Linked DNA regions of Homo sapiens: region 1 is linked to region 2. Evidence: promoter capture Hi-C in 16 types of primary human blood cells and fetal thymus (Javierre and others, 2016). All regions are on one chromosome and are shown on one strand. Each heading gives the region's core, a stretch centred on a gene start or on the middle of the fragment in contact. The rest is flanking DNA. Distances are from core to core; before and after follow the strand shown. Region 1 holds the start of TXNDC9 (thioredoxin domain containing 9). Region 2 holds the start of ITPRIPL1 (ITPRIP like 1).

Region 1 (3,308 bases), core at 153-2,652, 3.0 Mb after region 2:
GCTACGATCTCCTGACCTCGTGATCCGCCCGCCTCGGCCTCCCAAAGTGCTGAGATTACAGGCGTGAGCCAGCCGCGCCCGGCCAAAATTTTACTTCTTTTAAAAGAAATGGAGTATTTTGTACGAGAAATTTTATACCAACAATTAGAGGGCAAGTTTATGTGTATCTCAGGGTTATTACTGCAGAAATGATTTATAATTTGCCTATCAAAGCAGGAGGCTGTTGCATATCAATGAACTATGATACATTTGCAAATAATACTGAAGCACCCCAAACTTCACAACAAACTGTGAATTCATTCACTCAGCTTCTGACACAGATTCTGACCCACACAGGCCCTCTATAAACGTTGAGCTGAAGAGAAATATTCTTGCAAACTTCAATTCTGATTCCTTTTTCTTTACAGGAAAAGGATTTGAAAAGCATACTTGATTTCATCTTTGTATCTCCATAGAACACAGCAGGTACTCAATAAACATGTATTTAACGTTGAATGAACACGTGCCTGACTTCTGTTCAAATTACTACACTGTTAAGTTTCAAAAGTATTTGAGTCTAAAAAACCAAATTGTAAGCTCCTCGTGAGTGCTATAAAATTGGAAAGGTGCTGTATTTCAAACACAGCAAAGATTTCCACGCTCCCTATCGCCCAAGAAAAATGTCAGTAGGACTGTGACCCTCAGTGAGGGGGCTGGAAGGAGAAGATAATAAGATACTGAATTGAACGTTGGAAGCTGTGCTCCAGGGATAAGCACAGAGAATGCCTACCCTGGAACTTTATAGAATGAGCCCAGAATTTAATTATGGGATAACTGGAAAAAGACGAGATTAAGAAGAGCTATTCTGGGTGTAGGTGTTGGTGGTCAGAGCATTGAGAATGGGGTAAAGAGACGATGCAACCCCTCGTTAGCTTTTCATTTTTCAAACCACAGCCTCTGATTCTTCCTTTTTACAGCTCCGCTGGAAGGGTGGGACGGGACACAGCGCGTCCTCAAATTCCCTAGTCATTTCCTGGACACCCTTACAGGTATCCGCCAAAACAATCAAGGGGCCTGGTCCTTAACTGAACCCCAGGTACCTCCCCAATGGCAAGCCGGCCACTCCCTGCGCCCGGGGAAACAGAGGAAAGCACAGTCCCGGTGGCCCCAACTTCGACGCCTCCTGGTGCGCTTGCGCAAGAGCCTCTGCCAGGACACCGACACCGGTGCTGGGGCCGCGCCCCTCCTCCGCTCCGGATGTGGAGCAGCAGAATGTTCACCAGCACCCGGACGTGGTGGTCGGATTCTTCTCACTACCCTCTGCCTCACCTGAGCTCTCGGTGACGCCTGAGAAGTGAAAGAGCAGCAGTTTCAAAAGACACGTCCACTCCGGCTTTTGCCTTGCAGTAGCTGCCGGCGGCTGCAAACGGGCCGTCACATCCGCCTCCTTATTGGCTGCGAACCTCGCGCGATATCACCTTGGACGCCAGAGGAAGGGGCGGGCGGTCGGGTGGCGAACAGTTCTGCGCGTGCGCCTCCCGCCCAGCAGCCCGGAACCCAAGGTGTCCGACCCTTGCTTTCCTCCGGGTACACGGCCGAACTGGAAGGCCGCAAAGCATTGTGGGAGTTGCAGTTTCTTAGTGCGCAGGCTGTCGTGGCCGGACTTTCTCAGGAGCGTGCTTCAGTATTCACGGTCCAGTGCGCCAGACTGGAAATGAGACAGCTGTGCTCTCGCTCAGCCGTGACGCTTGAACTGCGTTTCCATTCTGTTAGTGTTGAATGAACATTTTTCTTTTTTTTGTTTTCTTTTGTTAACATTTTTCCTAAAGTCGAGGCATAAACATATACAGCACAATTAACTTTTGCATAGTTAAAACCCAAAATATCACCGGCCAGATCCAGATATAGAACATTTTCCACCACCCCTGTAGGTCCCCTCTTGACTCTTCGAAACACAGGAATTTTTAGAACTCGCCCTCGCTTTGAGGGTGAAGCTGAAGACCTATGTTAGGGAATTGATCGGCTGTGTCCTGTTCTGTTTTATTCAGTGACTGTACATAATGCATAATGCATGGATGTTACTGAGAGGTCCCTATTTTGTCCTGAATTTATCTCTCTCGCAAACCCCCAGAGGACTCTATTGGTTCGTTGTGGTTCTTTACTGAACTTCGTGCGGCTGAGAATACAAAGATATAAAGGGAAGCCCAAAGCCCACTCCTGAACCGAAGCGTGCGTTCCCCGTTGGGAGAGGGGTGAGGTGGCGAAATTGACAGCTTCATTGTCCACCTCCGGGTTCTAGAACGTGGAAAACCCGCGGGTGTCGGCTCGTGGCGGACGCTTGAGGGCAGGGGGCGCTCGGGCTGCTGCCTGGTCGGCCGGTCAACCGGAGACGCTCTACCCGAAGCGCAGCTCTCGATGAGCCGCGCCCTGCGTCCTCACGCCGAGGCGGCTGGGCGATGCGCTTGCGCACTGAGAACTCACACCATATGTGTCCTGTTCCAGTGCGCGGGTCTGTGGAGAGCCGGGTGCGAGCGGCGGCAGCACGAGGGGAAAAGAGCTGAGCGGAGACCAAAGTCAGCCGGGAGACAGTGGGTCTGTGAGAGACCGAATAGAGGGGCTGGGGCCACGAGCGCCATTGACAAGCAATGGGGAAGAAACAGAAAAACAAGAGCGAAGACAGGTAGATAGGGGTTGGGTCCGTACGGCGGCGGCCGCCGTGGCTCAGTGGAGTGTGCGGGTCTCGCCGGGCGCGGCGTCGGACCGGGGTCTGGGCTCGCGATGAGCTTCGCGGGGTACCAGGCCTGGGCCCAGAGTGTGCGGAGCGGGCCCAAGCCCCCGGGCCGGGTGGGCACGTAGGGCCTCGACGGCGGGCGGGTCCTCCCAGTCGAGCCTCGCTCCCCCGGCACCCCTTCCCCGGCCTGAGGAGCGGGGTAGTCATTTGAGGGTTCCTGGTCGCGCGGGGAGGGTCAGGCGGCTTCGCCAGCGTGGCCCAGGCCAGTGTGAGTTTTTTTCCGCGCTACTCTTGGCGAGGGTGGGGAAGTTCTTTTTATGCCTCTTATACCTGTGAGTACTTTGGGAGGGAAGGGAGCTTGAATGTGATGTACGGCCGGGTTTCTCTACTCGCGGTTTCAGGTACGTTAGAGTTATGGGGAGGTGTTTAGCAGTTCGCTGTCTCTCAACTTAATCTGATTTGGATACAGTTTTCGTTTATTTAAGGGCTGATTGTCCAGCCCTCATGCTTTTCGCTTTCCTTCTTCCGGCCTGTTTTTTTTTGTCGTTTCTTTGCTCTCTAGCCTTCCCCTAAGAAAGGAAGGGAAGAAGAAGAAACC
Region 2 (2,941 bases), core at 5-2,504:
TAACCTGTGATCTATTTTTCATAATTCACATTTATAAAAAGTAACTTTGGAACTTCAGTCATTGTCAGCTAGCAGACAGTTTTTCCTGCTCCACAATTAAATAAGTCAGTATTCTTGGAAGTATTGTACAAGTTGTTTGGGAGCTCCCTACACATTGCCACTGGATAAGAAGACCTGAAACCCAGCCATGTGTGATGGCTTACACATATAATCCCAGCATTTTGGGAGGCCGAGGCGGGCAGATCACCTGAGGTCAGGAGTTCGAGACCAGCATGGCCAACATGGTGAAACCCCGTCTTTACTAAAAATACAAAAATTAGCTGGACATGGTGGCATACACCTGTGGTCCCAGCTACTCAGTAGGCTGAGGCAGGAGAATCACTGGAACCTGGGGCGGGTAGGCTGCAGTGAGCCAAGATGGTGCCACTACACTCCAGCCTGGGTGACAGAGCGAAACTCTTTCTCAAAAACAAACAAACAAATAAAAACCCTGAAACTTGTCTTTCAGCAGAGGGATTTTAGTGAGTTAGTATCAAGGGGTCATCACTTCCTTTTCTTCTTGGATAGCTGACACAAGACAGGAAGACTAAGGGCTCTTTCTGATATCTGAAGATCCCTTTCAGGAAACCCATTCTGTTGTGTTTCTTAAGGTGTGATAAAGCTTGTCCAGCCTCCACACCGTATAAAGTTCTCCTTTATACACCCATGTATCAGCAGAGCTGCCCTGTAGGTAGGATTCTTACTCCCACGTGGCCAGTGAGTAGCAAGCAAGGCCCCAAGTAAGGTCTTTGGGTGCTGTCTGTTCTTTCATGAGAGTCACTTTGATATGAGAAAGGGGTTGGGGAAAGATGCCTGAGTCTGGGCGTGGGCTGGGAGGGAAGCACATTTAGGGTGCTGAAACCACATCTTATTTCGTGTGCCATTTTGCTCAGGGCCAGCCCGAAGTGAGAATGGCTTTTCTCGGTCAATTCCTAGTTTTGCCACCATCATCCTTACACCCGAATCCTAGTAAGTCTGTTCTCCACTGAACTGAGCTGAGTGCAGCTGACAGCAGGCACGGCGGTGCCCCATTTGCCACCCCAGGGAGGCCGAGCAGCGGAGAGTGTGTGGCCACGGCCCCTCCACTCTCCCAGCAAACCCACGGGGGCCTCGGTGCGGACAGAGACCCGGTGTGGGGAGGCCGCTGCCCCTGCACGCTGGGCCACGGGGGTTTGGGCGGGGAGGAGCTTGTACTGGGTGGGCGGGGAGGAGCCCGGACGGCGGGAGCGGCTGCGGCGCGCGGGCGCCCTCGGAGCCGCGTGCTGGGGGTCGTAGGGGCCCACCGCGCTCAGCCAGACGTTCAGACGCTCGGACAAGCATGGTCTATAACCCAGGAAAGGGGAGCAGGGCCACTCCCGCGGGCGGCCCCAGCGATGAACCGGACGCCCCCACCCTGCCGGGAAAAAAGCAGTGGCGGTCAGGCCGCGCTGTCTCTTTAAGATCGTGTTCCTACTAACACTGACGGTGAGTAACCTGGCCCTGGGTCCCGGGAGACATCCCGAGGTAGGATGGGCCCTTGGCCTCCTACGGATAGGCGGGTGAGAGTACAAATCTCTGGGCGTGGAATTTGGGGAAGTTATGAATGGGGGGAGGGTCGGGTTCCGATTTGAGCCAAAGCCCCCAGGTACCTTGTACATTTTAACAGGGCTCCTAGAGAGGGCGGGGAGACGAAGCAAGGCCAAGTTCCAAAGGGAGGATAGGCCCAGCTGGCTTCAGCGTCCACACGGCATAGTCCTTCATGAATGTTGGTAAGCGCGGTAGCTTGTGAATTAGGGTGAGTGGCAGAAGCTCGGGCTTCACGGGTGGGTGGGGAGGCAGTGGAACTGACCACTGCCGGCTGTCAGGTAGGCCTTGGGCACCTGGTTCTGCAGACAGTTTTCTGAACTAAGAAGTGAAGCTAGCCTGCCCACACACGGGGTATCCACTAGCCCCTTAGGAGCAGAGAGGGCACCGTAGCAAGCAGCTGGCGGCACTGTGCCTCTCTTGCGCTCCCTGGGCAGAGAGGGAGAGGCTGAGTGATGAGGCTCACTTCATACTGGGTGAGCAGAATGAAGACTGTGAAGTCACAGAGGAAGTGGAATGCTACAACTGGCTGCCGGGGCAGAGGAAAGGTGTCACCCAGGCAGGTTCAGGGCTTTCTGGCTATAAAAGGGAGCCTCTGGGATCAGCAGGTCATATCTGGTGCCCATGGTTGACTGAGGAGTCGGGTGAGGCCACCCTACCACAAGGGTCCCCCTCCCCATCCTACACAGGAATGAAAACAGTCCCATGTACACTTTCTGGAAGCCTAAATACCACCCACACCATGTGGAAGGAAAGCAGGAGAGAGACTGAGTGGCACATCCTTTCGCCCTCTTTTCTCTCGAACCTCCTCCCAGGCCGACCACCCTTGCTGTGTCCAAGCCAAGCTCTGTGGGCTTTCTGTTCCTCCTGAGTAGCTGATTTTCAGAATTTGGGGTACCAGGGCTCTGGGGAATGTGAGCTAGAGAGCAGATAAGTCTGGAAGATGACCACTGACTCCTACTCTCCTACTTCTCCAGATGCAGAGGCCTCCATGGCTGTGATAAGCCTGCTGTTCTTGGCAGTGATGTATGTTGTTCACCACCCTCTGATGGTCAGTGATCGGATGGACCTGGACACATTAGCCAGGAGTCGGCAGCTGGAGAAGCGAATGAGTGAGGAGATGCGCCTGCTAGAGATGGAGTTTGAAGAGAGAAAGCGAGCCGCTGAGCAGAGGCAGAAGGCAGAGAACTTCTGGACAGGAGACACATCCAGTGACCAGTTAGTGCTGGGGAAGAAAGACATGGGGTGGCCGTTCCAGGCCGATGGCCAGGAAGGGCCTCTGGGCTGGATGCTGGGAAACCTGTGGAACACTGGCCTCTTTTGCCTTTTTCTCGTCTTT

What was found. Contacts are between HindIII fragments. The CHiCAGO score rates a contact against its expected background, and 5 or more counts as called.
Region 1: a contact is called between the fragment with the promoter of TXNDC9 here and the fragment with the promoter of ITPRIPL1 in region 2, in 1 of 17 cell types (neutrophils). The highest score is 5.9, in neutrophils.

What each region holds. Positions count from the first base shown.
Region 1 is chr2:99,334,931-99,338,238 of GRCh38, forward strand. TXNDC9 (thioredoxin domain containing 9) reads right to left here and starts at 1,403. Exons shown (of 5, transcript NM_005783.4): 1 at 1,309-1,403. EIF5B (eukaryotic translation initiation factor 5B) reads left to right here and starts at 2,459. Exons shown (of 24, transcript NM_015904.4): 1 at 2,459-2,659. The coding sequence starts at 2,625. RefSeq lists enhancers at 888-1,117, 1,171-1,711, 1,248-1,297, 1,548-1,697, 2,058-2,107 and 5 more and a silencer at 2,728-2,887. The HindIII fragment of the contact is 22,802 bases long and covers 1-3,308 here.
Region 2 is chr2:96,324,063-96,327,003 of GRCh38, forward strand. ITPRIPL1 (ITPRIP like 1) reads left to right here and starts at 1,255. Exons shown (of 3, transcript NM_001008949.3): 1 at 1,255-1,503; 2 at 1,685-1,787; 3 at 2,580-2,941. The coding sequence starts at 1,778. RefSeq lists a silencer at 1,170-1,419 and an enhancer at 1,442-1,942. The HindIII fragment of the contact is 6,653 bases long and covers 660-2,941 here.